Linked DNA regions of Homo sapiens: all the other regions are linked to region 2. Evidence: promoter capture Hi-C in human tissues and cell types (Jung and others, 2019). All regions are on one chromosome and are shown on one strand. The core of a region is centred on a gene start or on the middle of the fragment in contact, and the rest is flanking DNA. Distances in the headings are between cores, read along the strand shown. Region 1 overlaps PFKFB4 (6-phosphofructo-2-kinase/fructose-2,6-biphosphatase 4). Region 2 holds the start of NCKIPSD (NCK interacting protein with SH3 domain). Region 3 has its middle 9.6 kb from the start of ARIH2.

Region 1 (3,958 bases), core at 233-2,732, 150 kb before region 2:
TGGGAGGCCGAGGCGGGTGGATTGCCTGAGGTTGGGAGTTTGAGACCAGTCTGGCCAACATGGTGAAACCCTGTCTCTACTAAAAATACAAAAAAAATTAGCTAGGCATCGTGGTGTGGGCCTGTAATCCCAGCTACTCAGGAGGCTGAGGCAGGGGAATTGCTTGAACCAGGGAGGTGGAGGTTGCAGTGAGCTGAGATCATGCCACTGCCCTCCAGCCTGGGCGACAGAGCGAGATTCCGTTTCAAAATAAATAAATAAATAAATAAATAATAAAAACAGAATTACCATAGGATCTGGCAATTCCACTTCTAGGTCTATACCAAAAAGAATTGAATTGAGAGCAGGGTCTCAAAGAGACATTTGTATCCATGTTCACAGCTGCATTATCCACAATAGCTAAAAAGTGGAAGCTGTCCAAGTGTCCATTGGCAGATGAATGGATACACGAAATGTGGTATACAATAGAATCTTATTCTGCCTTAGAAAGGAAGAAAATTCTTAAGGCTGGGTGTGATGGTTCACATTTGTAATCCTAGCACTTTGAGAGGCCAAAGTGGTAGAATCGCTTGAGGCTAGGAGTTTGAGACCAACCTGGGCAATATAGTGAGCCTCCCTTCTCTACAAAAAATAAAAAAATTATCTAGGCATGGTGGTGTGCACTTGTTAGTCCCAGCTACTAGGGAGGCAAGAGAATCGTTGAGTCTAGGAGTTTGAGGCTGCAGTGATTTCCACATTGCACTGTAGCCTGGGTGACAGAGTGAGATGCTGTCTTAAAAAATAAACAGGAAGGAAACTCTTGCACAAGCTACAACATGGATGAACCTTGAGGATATTATGCTAACTAAAGTAACCAGTTACAAAAAGACAAATACTATATGATTTCACTTATATGAGGTATATAAAGTAGTCAAAGTCATAAAGACAGAAAGTGGTTGCCAGGGGCTGGGAGTAGCAAATAGAGTTATTGTTTTTCTTTTTAAAATTTTTTTAGAGATGGGGTCTCACTATGTTGTCCAGGCTGGAGTGCAAGGGCCAATCGTGAATGAAATCATAGCACACCACAGCCTCAAACTCATGGGCTCAAGCAATCCTCCCACCTCAGCCTCCCAAGTACCTGGGACTATAGGTGTGAGCCAGCACATCTGGCTTGAGTTATTGTTCAGTGGGTACAGAGTTTCTGTTTTACAAGATTAAAAGAGTTCTGGAGATGCATGGTGGTGAGAGTTGCATAACAATGTAAATGTACTTCATACTCCTGAAACGTACACTTCAAAACAGCTATGATGGTAAATTTTATGTTATGCATATTTTACCACAGTAAAAAAAAATGGAAAAACAAAAGCAGGGGTGGTAATATTCAAATTAGTCAAAGTATATATCCACAGAAAAAGCTTTTCATATTGAAATGGGAACCACCCATAATAAAGACCAAGCCATGATGGAGCAACTGGTACCAGATTTGCTCTGGCCCCAACAAAAACAACTATTATTAAAAAAGGACAAATTGGCAGGGCGCTGTGGCTGACACCTGTAATCCTAGAACTTTGGGAGGTTGAGGTGGGTGGATTGCCTGAGGTCAGGAATTCAAGACCAGCCTGGCCAACGTGGTGAAACCCTGTCTCTACTAAAAATACAAAAATTAGTTGGTGTGGTGGCGGGTGCCTATAATCCCAGCTACTCTGGAGGCTGAGGCACAAGAATCGCTTGAACCCGGGAGACGAAGGTGGCAGTGAGCCGAGATCGTGCCATTGCACTCCAGCCTGGACAACAGGAGCAAACCTCCGTCTCAAAAAAATAAATAAATAAAGGGACAAATCAAACAACTGTTTTTAGACACGAGACTAGGCAGGACTGTGATCCTTGAGAGAAGGGAAGCAAGCTGAGGGGAGGAGGCAGCAGCTTACTGCCCAGAGGCACTTCCTGGACTGCAGAGCCAAGCATAATGAAGAAATAATGGAAGATTCAAAAAAGGAACAAAATGAAATTCCTGGAGCTTCAAAACACCACATCTGATATGAAAAGTTCACTGGATGGGTTTAATAAAAATGCAGAAGTAAAGATAAGTGAATTTGAAGACATAGCAGTAGAAACTATCTAAATTAAAGCTCGGAAGGAAAAAAAGACAGAGAAGAAATGAACAGAAGAAATTAAAAAACCAGAAGTTCAGTGACCTGTGGGATGATACCAAACAGTCTAACACACACAGAGTGGGAGTCCAGGATGGGAGAAGGGGTGGCAGAAAATACCTTTGAAGAAATGATGGCCAACAATTCTTCACATTTTATATTTAGAAACCCAGAAATCCGAGAATCTCAATAAACCCCAAGGATGATAAACATAAAGAAAACCATACTGAGATACATCATAATCAAATTGCTAAAAATCAGCAATAAAGAGAAAATATTCCAGCCTAGGCAACATCATGAGACTCCGTCTCTACAAAAATTAGAAAAGATTAGCCTGGCATGGTGGCAAGTGCCTGTAGTCCCAGCTAGTCAGGAGGTTGAGATGGGAGGATGGCTTGAGCCCAGGAAGTTGAGGCTACAGTGAGCTATGATTGCACCACAGCACTCCAGCTTGGGTGACAGAGTAAGATCTTGTCTTGAAAAAAAAAAAAAAAAGAAGAAAAGAAAATATTAAAGGCAGTCAGAGAAAAAGGAGGTAACATTATATCCAGAAGAGCAAAGATGAGAATGACAACAGACTTCTCTTAGAAACAATGCAACCCAGAAGTCAGCAGAAGAGCATTTTTTTTTTTTTGAGACAGAACATCACTCTGTTGCCCAGGCTGGAGTGCAGTGGCACAATCTCAGCCCACTGCAACCTCTGTCTCCTGGGTTCAAGCAATTCTCCTGCCTCAGCCTCCCGAGTACGTGGGATTACAGGTACCCACCACCATGCCTGGCTAATTTTTGTATTTTCAGTAGAGATGGGGTTTCACCATGTTGGCCAGGCTGGACTCAAACTCCTGACTTGAGGTGATCCGCCCGCCTCAGCCTCCCAAAGTGCTGGGATTACAAGGGTGAGCCACCGCACCTGGCGAGAACAGCATCTTTAAAGAGACAAAGGCCGTGCTGGTTCACCTCATTTGTGTCTCCAGATCCCTGGGAGGTTGGCTATGGCTGACTGCAGCTACCAAGCTCCCGTGGCCGCTGATTTCTTGTTGAGCTAGACCATGAGGAACCCTAGCAGGAGGCCACAGGGAGGGAGGAGAGTGAGGTTGAGGTGTCAACTCCCAGGCTCACTCCTGAGAATGGTCTAGGGCTCACCCAAGGTCCCATCCTGTTAGGCTGCCTTTTCCTCTCTGCTCCCAGCCCCTAGGTTCCTGTATCCTTTCTCTCTCCTCTCCTTTGCCCAAGGGGAGCAATGGTCACTGTTGTTACAATATGATGCAGCAGCCCTGCGGTATCTGGGAGGTAGACAGGGAGGGAGGGACGGTAACTACCGCATCGATCTCGTTGAGGACCTTCCACTGTTCATAGGGCACACCCAGTGCCTCAGCCGTCTGGATTGTCCTCTTCATCTGGCTTGTCCAGACCTTCAGATCCTTGATATTTTGGTCACTGATGAACTGGGCTAGACTCTTGGCAAACTGAAATACATCATAAGCAAACTCAGACCCACAGGTCTTGGGCTGCCCTTAAAGCATCCCATAGCCGCAGGGTCCATGAGATCACCCTCGCCTTGAACACTCACTACAGGTTTGGTAAAAAGCATGAACTAACTTGTCGATGACACACATGCTGACACACAAGAACACAAGTGCTGTTCCTGTGCACCCTCCCAGACCCTGAGCACAGCAGCACAGTTACAGCTGAGACTCATCAGGGCCACTGCCTCCCCACAACCAGGTGCCCTGTGCTACGTGACCACTGAGGTCTCCCCTGGACTGTGGCACAGCTATCTGCTACACTGTATGGACTCAGGTCGCTCTAAGGGTGGCATGCCTCTGACA
Region 2 (3,963 bases), core at 1,463-3,962:
CAGGGTGACCCCCATGCTGCCACATTACATATTAGGTCCTGATCAGGATTTTACCCCACAGCAAGGCTCTTGGCTAAGATGTTTCTGAAAATCAGAGGTCTAAAGCAAAAACATAGCCCAGGGGCTCCCAGCTTGCAGCCAGGAGCGCATACCTCGTCTATCCCTGGTCTTGGCTCAGAGCCCAGGTTGAGATGCCAAACAGGAAGTCTCCAGTATCTGGAATCCTTAATACATCACTCTGCATCTTGCTGATCTTTCACAAAACCAAGGTCATACCCCAGAACAGCCCTGTCCTTGTAAGGGCCCTCTGTAAGCCCTGGGAGCTGAGAATGGGTCAAAGGGACTTGCCCTCCCCAACCCTGCTGCTGGCCCTCATCCCCACAAGATGTCTCAGTAAGCTTCCAAACCCACCCTGGGAAGCAGTTCTGTGTTTGTGGCAAAGGATAAACATGAGAGAGGGGCCTAGCCCCTGTTCCAGGCTCTGTACTGCCATCCCCAACATTCCAGGGATCCAGTCTACTCTGCCTATCTGACATGGGGAGTGTAGGGTAGCAGCTATCAAACCAGCTACCCCCAGCCCTCCCCTGGCCCTGGCACACGTAGTCCATCAGGCTACATAGGAGTCCCGGAGCTGAGATGAACTCATTCCACCATGGGTTTGAGAAGCTTCCCTGATGGGCACAGACAGGTGGGCACAGAGGTCAGCAAAGCCCTCCAGGTGGTATGAGGTGTGCCAGAGTGCAGGGAGAGGAGACAGGGGGATAGAAAGACATGAAGACACACACACACACACACACACACACACACACACACACACAGAGAGAGAGAGAAAGAAAGGAATGGGGAAAGAGAGGAGCTCAGAGAGGAACGGAGAGGCAGACAGAGGGAAACAACGCAGAAAGAAACAGAGCCAAAGCCAGAGTGTGGGGGGAGCCGGAGGAAGAAACAAAAACACACACATGTGGAGTCGGAACGACACAGGCAGAGAGGCACAGAGTCGCAGCAATCCAGACAGAAAGAGACACGCAGAAAGAAACAGACAGTGACAGAGAAGATGGTAGCCTCTCTGCCCTCCCCAAACACCTTGCCCCACTGGTCCTGGCTGGCGGCAGGGGACTCACAGGCCCTTGACCTATGCCCAGTAGGGGAAGAGACAGGACTTTTCCTCAGAGGCCTTCAATGAGACCCCATTCCCAAAAAGGTTGGGTCTGACACACAGCAGCCATGGTGTCCACGGCCCCCACTCCCACCCCTGGCACTCCTAGATGGGATCACGCCAAGGGTCTATGAGGAAGCCCCTAGGCCCCCAGGGCCCATCCTTCCTGGTAAGACCAGATGACACTTCCAAATTTATCCCGTTATTTCTGTCCTGAACTGGGCTGGGACAGGATGTTTCCTAAAGGATAAGGACTAGGACGGGGCGGGGGTGTCTGGCACAGGCCCGGCAGCTCTGGGCCCTTCTTCCCCCTGTGGTCAGAATAGACCAGCTGGAGATACGCACCCCAACCCCCGCAGCAGGGCTACTCTTAGGGAAACAGGAACTGGGACTGCAGCTTCCACTGGAAGGAAATGGGGCCACGATCAGACCAGGAGAAGCTATAAGAACTCACTTCATCACAATGTGAGCAGTCCCCACTCCAGGCTGGGAACAAGTAGGGATGGAACCCATTTTCAAAGCAAGAAAGTTTGAGAAGTCAGGGTTGGGGAGTGGAGCAGACAGTGTCAGCAGGGGCATGGGTCCTTGGTTCAAATAAGGTTGGTAGAGACTTAAGAAGAGCTTAGAGGGTGGCTGAACACAGGCTAGTGAAAGACACTGAAGTACCAAAGCTTGGGTGTTACATAGGGGATGGAGGTGTCTATGGCTCTAGGGTCCAAGTTGGGGGGTTGAGGACCTGGAGAATGGCTAGGGAAACAGGTGGTGTCCAAGGTGGTCCAGGTCTCAGTGGTGGCTCCAACGGGGGGCAAGGCGCGGGGTTGGGGGAAGAAGGAAGGGAGGGAGGGAGGGAGGGAGGGAGGGAGGGAGGGAGGTTGGTTGTGGGGTCCTAGGAATCCAGAGAAGGGGCATATTAAGGATCTGGGGTCTCAGGGATTTGAATAATTGGCCAGGATTCGGTGGGGCTCAGGGTCGCCATTCAGATGGCGGACTCGATACTGAAGGGTCTGGGGTCCTGAGGAGTCTCAGTCCCAGAGTTAGGCTTTTGGTCGATCGGGAGTTGGTCTGTCAAGGGCCTGGTCTTTTGTGGGTGATGCTGACACTTGGGGTCTCAGTCCCCGTGGGTCCGGGGGTCTCAGGGTCAGGTTCTCAAACTCCCTGTCTGATAGAGGTCCTGGCCTCGGGTCCCGGAGAGGGTGGGGTCCCTGGGTCGGTTCCGCGGGGCTGTGAAGGGGTCCTGCCCCAGGGGCGCGGAGGCCGGGCGGGAAGGGGCGCACTCACCTGCAGGCGGCGCAGGTAGGCTGGCGGCACGTAGCCCGTCTCACCACTGCGCGCCCGCGCGGCCAGCCACCAGTGCGCGCTGCTTCGCTCTAGCACCAGGAAGGTCTCGCCCGCGGCGAACGCCAGCGCGTTGGGCTCCGCCGAGCGGAACGCGTACAGCGCGCGGTACATGAGGCCGGGCAGGGCAGGTGCAGGGAAGGTGGCAAGGGCTGCGGCGCCACAACGCCAGGCCGGGAGCGCCGAGCCGCGCCGCGGTTGTCCCGCCCCGTGACACACTACGCAGGCGCGCGCGCGCCCGCCCGCCGAAGCCCCGCCCCGGGCTGTATCGTTCCACGCATCGGAGAGCAGCGCCCCCGCGCGGCCCCAAGAGGTGCGGCGGGGCTGGGGTCGACAGCTCGCTGTCTCCTCTGGTCCCTCCCGGCTCCAGGCCCCTCATCCCCGGACACCGCACCCTCACTCCTCACCCCGGCCTCAGTTTCACCCGTCCAGCCCTCTGCTCCCTTTCCCCGCTTAAGTCCGAGCGCTGCGTCCCGTCCTACCTCCCGGTGAAAGCGCGCTCCGCTCGTAGCGGGTGCGCCCCTACCGCCCTGGGGCAGTGGGTCCCATCTACTAATTGCAAGGACGGCGACCTCGAAAGGATGATCTTGCTGATCCGACACTTGGAAGCCCCCGCGGGGCCCGGCTCTCGGTGTGTCTAGGCCTCACCACCTGTCTTCACCGAGTGCCGGTGGTGGCCAGTGGGGAGCAAGTGTGGGGAGAAGGGGGCCACAAAAGCAGAAACCAGGCGGGGCTATTCCCTGTCTAAAGCCCTCCCATCTTTGCTCCCCACCCCTACTCCTCCTCTCTCTTCAGCTATGGCTGGTTTTCTCTATATTGGGCCTTTGCATATTCTGTTCCCTCTACCTGGGACAATTTTCCCTTCCCTCTCCTATAGTATTTGTCCGTCAAGCTCCCACCCCCATCAATCGCTATCATCTTGCTGTGTTTTATTGTCTTTATAGGACTTAAGATTTGCGATGCCCCTTTCTGAGAGCATAGAGGAGGGCTGAAAGAGGGAGTGGGGTACCACGGTGGCCTTAAGAGCCTATTTGATCCACCCAGCTTTCCAGTCAGCCCAGATCTCCAGATATATGAAATCCGTGTAATAAGAGTGCCTGGAAGACCCAGGGAAGAGGCCCTCAGGGTCCTGGAGAGACTGTGGCTGAGAATGGTCCAGCTACGCTCCACAGGAAGCCCGAGCCCAGGAAGCAGGAGGCGTGTACAGGCCAGTGTGTGCAAGTTTTCTATTTTTATCTGTATTTATTTTTTGAGACAGGGTCTTGCTCTGTCGTCCAGGCTGGAGTGCAGTGGGATGATCAAGCTCATTGCAGCCTTGATCTTCCAGGCTCAAGCCTACTGTCTCTGGGACTACAGGCATGCACCACCACACTCAGCTTTTTTTTTTTTTTTTTTTTTTTTTTTTTTTAGTAGAGACAAGGTCTTGCTATGTTGCTCTGGCTAGTCTCAAATTCCCGGACTCAAGCAGTCCT
Region 3 (3,720 bases), core at 602-3,101, 220 kb after region 2:
TAGCCTGGCATGGTGGCGGGTGCCTGTATTCCCAACTACTTGGGAGGCTGAGACAGGAGAATTGCTTGAACCCAGGTGGTAGAGATTGCAGTGAGCTGAGATCGTGCCACTGCACTTCAGCCTGGGTGACAGAGTAAGATTCCATCTCAAAAATAAAATAAATAAATAAATAAAATAGAAAACAATTTTTAAAAAAGAAACCATGAAGCTGAAATTAAAACATTGTAGTATTGGACTGGGAATAGGCAAACAGACCTTCAAAACAGAACGAAGAGCCCAGATAACAAATCCATGGGAGACTGAGGCAGGATTGCTTTTTTTTTTTTTTTTTTTTTTTTTAGAAAGAGGCTCACTCTTTCCCCCAGGCTGGAATGCAGTAGCAGGATCTTGGCTCACTGCAACCTCCGCCTCCCAGGTTCAAGTGATTCTTCTGTCTCAGCTCCCCCAAGTAACCAGGACTCCAGGCACGTGCCACCACGCCTGGCTAATTTTTGTATTTTTTGGTAAAGATGGGGTTTCACTATGTTGGCCAGACTGGTCTTGAACTCCTTACCTCAGGTGATCTTTCCGCCTCAACCTCCCAAAGTGCTGGGATTACAGGCGTGAGCCACTGTGCCCAGCTGAGGTAGTATTGCTTTAACCCAGGAGGCAGGGGTTGCAGTGAGCCAAGATAGCACCACTGCACTCCAGCCTAGGTGACAGAGCATCACCTAGGGTCTTTTGAGACAGGGTCTTGCTCTGTTACCTAGGCTTGTCTCCTAGGCTAGGCCTCAGAAAAAAATTAAATAAATCAATAAATAAAATATTAGCATTTTGTACATATCTTTCAGGGCCCTTTCAATGAGTTAACATACATATTTATATATACAGCTATACACACCTACACACACACTTACACAAACTGTTTTCATTGATAAAAGGCTATATTGTAAATACCAGTTTGCTTTTTTCACTCAGTAGAGGCTGCTATTATTCTCCTAATTTCACAAATGAGCAAACTAAGTCACAGAGAGGTTAAGGTTCCCTGCCCAAGGTCACATGGACAGGAAGATGTGGAGTTGGGATTCTCTTTAAAGTATTATTTTAATTTTAGTTTTATTTTTTTGAGACAGGGTCTTGCTCTGTCACCTAGGCTGGAGTGCAGTGGCACAATCTCAGCTCACTGCAACCTCCACTTCCTGAGCTGAAGCCATTCTCCCATCTCAGCCCCACTAGTAGCTGGGACTACAGGTGTGCACCACCATGCCTGGTTAATTTTTTTTTTTTTTTTTGAGATGGAGTTTTGCTCTTGTCACCCAGGCTGGAGTGCAGTGGCACAATCTCAGCTCACTGCAACCTCTGCCTCCCAGGTTCAAGCGATTCTCCTGCCTCAGCCTCCTGAGTAGGTGGGATTACAAATACCCGACACCACGCCTGGCTAATTTTTGTATTTTTAGTAGAGACAGGGTTTCACCATGTTGGCCAGGCTTGTCTCAAACTCCTGACTTCAGGTGATCCACCTGCCTTGTCCTCCCAAGGTGCTAGGATTATAGGCATGAGCCACCGTCCCGGCCGAGGTTACTTTTTGTATTTTTTGTAGAGATGGGGTTTCCCTATGTTGCCAAGGCTAGTCTTGAACTCCTGAGCTCAAGTGATCCTCCTGTCTTGGCATCCCAAAGTGCTGGGATTACAGGAGTGACCCACTCTCCCAAGCCTCAATTTTGATTAATTAATTATTTTTGAGACAGGGTATCCCTATGTTGCCCAGGGTGGTCTCGAACTCCTGGACTCAAGCAATCATCCCACCTCAGCTTCCTGAAGTGCTGGAATTACAGGCATGAGCCACTGTACCCGGTCAAGGGTTTCTAATCCTAGCTGTCTGGCTCTAGACTACGCTTTGTTGGTCCGTAAGGCCAAAGCTTGTGATAGAGCTTTAGAGGATGTTGAAAAGAAAAATGATATGTTTTGTACTTTAAAAATATATATATTTTTTGAGACAGAGTTTCGCTCTTGTTGCCTAGGCTGAAGTGCAATAGTGTAATCTTGGCTCACCGCAACCTCTGCATCCCAGGTTCAAGCGATTCTCCTGCCTCAGCCTCCCGAGTAGCTGGGATTACAGGCATGTGCCACCACGCCCGTTAATTTTGTATTTTTAGTAGAGACGGGGTTTTGCCAGGTTGGCCAGGCTGGTCTTGATCTCCTGAGGTGGCTCACACCCATAATCCCAGCACTTTGGGAGGCTGAGGTGGGTGGATCACCTGAGGTCAGGAGTTCCAGACCAGCCTGGCCAACATGGTGAAAACCCATGTCTACTAAAAATAACAAAAATTAGCCGGGCGTGGTGGCAGGCGCCTGTAATCCCAGCAATTTAGGAGGCTAAGGCAGGAGAATCGCTTGAATCTGTGAGGCAGAGGTTGCGGTGAGCCAAGATCATGCCATTGAACTCCAGCCTGGGCAACAGGGCGAGACTCCGTCTCAAAAAAAAAAAAAAAAAAGAAAAATCCCACCTTCTATCTTGAAAAAAATAAATCTTTTTTAAAAAAAGAATAAAAATAAAATGTACTGGGCCGGGCACGGTCGCTCACGCCTGGAATCCCAGCACTTTAGGAGGCCAAGGTGGGAAGATTACCTGAGGTCAGGAGTTTGAGACCAGCCTGGCAAACATGGCGAAACACCATCTCTACTAAAAATACAAAATTAGCCAGGCATGGTGGTGCATGCCTGTAGTCCCAGCTACTCGGGAGAATGAGGCAGGAGAATCGCCTGAACCTGGGAGGTGGAGGTTGCAGTGAGTCGAGATTGTACCATTGCACTCCAGCCTGGGCGGCAAGAGCAAAACTCTGCCTCGAAAAATAAAAATAAATAAATAAGTAAATAAATAATAAAATGTACTGCACTCCAACATGGGTGACAGAGTGAGATCCTGTCTCTACAAAAGTAAAAAATATTTTAAAGCAGGGCGACTAGTTAAGGGACTACTGCTCACATCCAAAGACACATTGAGGGTGGCTTGGAATAGAGCTGCAGGTAGTGGTAAGTGCTAAAGTCAGGACATATCTCAGAGGTATAGCTCATGGGAATTGCTTGTGGACTGAATGTGAAATTTGGAAGAGGAAAGCTCATGGAAAACTTGTGATTTGTTTTTTCTTTCTTTCTTTTTTTTTTGAGACAGAGTCTTGCTCTGTCGCCCAGGCTGGAGTGCAGTGGTGCAATCTTGGTTCACTGCAACCTCCTGGGTTCAAGCAATTCTCCTGCCTCAGCCTCCCGAGTAGCTGGGATTACAGGTGCCCACCACCATGCCCAGTTAATTTTTGTATTTTTAGTAGAGACAGGGTTTTGCTATCTTGGCCAGGCTGGTCTTGAACTCCTGACCTCAGGTGATCTGCCCACCTCGGCCTCCCAAAGTGCTGGGATTACAGGCGTGAGCCACCATGCCTGGCCAAATTTGTGAATTTTTGGCCTGAGTAAATGGAGAGAGAGTGGTATTGAGCTGGGAAATATTGGGGGAGTGGCAGGTTTGGAGGTAAATTTGAGAATTTTGTTTTATTTAAGACATGTTAAATTCGAGTGCCGATATGACATCCAAATGGAGGTATTGAATGGACAACTGCATATACTGAGTGTGAAGTATAGGAAATTTGGTAGGATTAGAAATGAAAACCTGGAAGTCATCAGTATACGGGAGGTCCTAAGGCAAAGAGGTTGAATGAGATCACTGGGGAAGGAGCGTAGATGGAAGAG

Evidence for each region. Contacts are between HindIII fragments. The study calls those that stand out against the background at their distance.
Region 1: a contact is called between a fragment that was not itself captured here and the fragment with the promoter of NCKIPSD in region 2, in 1 of the 25 tissues and cell types used here (hippocampus).
Region 3: a contact is called between a fragment that was not itself captured here and the fragment with the promoter of NCKIPSD in region 2, in 1 of the 25 tissues and cell types used here (dorsolateral prefrontal cortex).

Annotation. Positions count from the first base shown.
Region 1 is chr3:48,532,064-48,536,021 of GRCh38, forward strand. PFKFB4 (6-phosphofructo-2-kinase/fructose-2,6-biphosphatase 4) reads right to left here. Exons shown (of 14, transcript NM_004567.4): 9 at 3,449-3,595. Among named protein-coding and RNA genes, the nearest start is that of MIR6823, 16 kb to the right of the region's middle. The HindIII fragment of the contact is 9,044 bases long and covers 1-3,958 here.
Region 2 is chr3:48,683,203-48,687,165 of GRCh38, forward strand. It overlaps NCKIPSD (NCK interacting protein with SH3 domain), which reads right to left and starts at 2,713. Exons shown (of 13, transcript NM_016453.4): 1 at 2,435-2,713. The coding sequence starts at 2,605. RefSeq lists silencers at 2,221-2,940, 2,334-2,628 and enhancers at 2,825-3,556, 3,151-3,220. The HindIII fragment of the contact is 9,717 bases long and covers 1,247-3,963 here.
Region 3 is chr3:48,907,353-48,911,072 of GRCh38, forward strand. No RefSeq gene overlaps it. Among named protein-coding and RNA genes, the nearest start is that of ARIH2, 9.6 kb to the right of the region's middle. The HindIII fragment of the contact is 4,450 bases long and covers 1-3,720 here.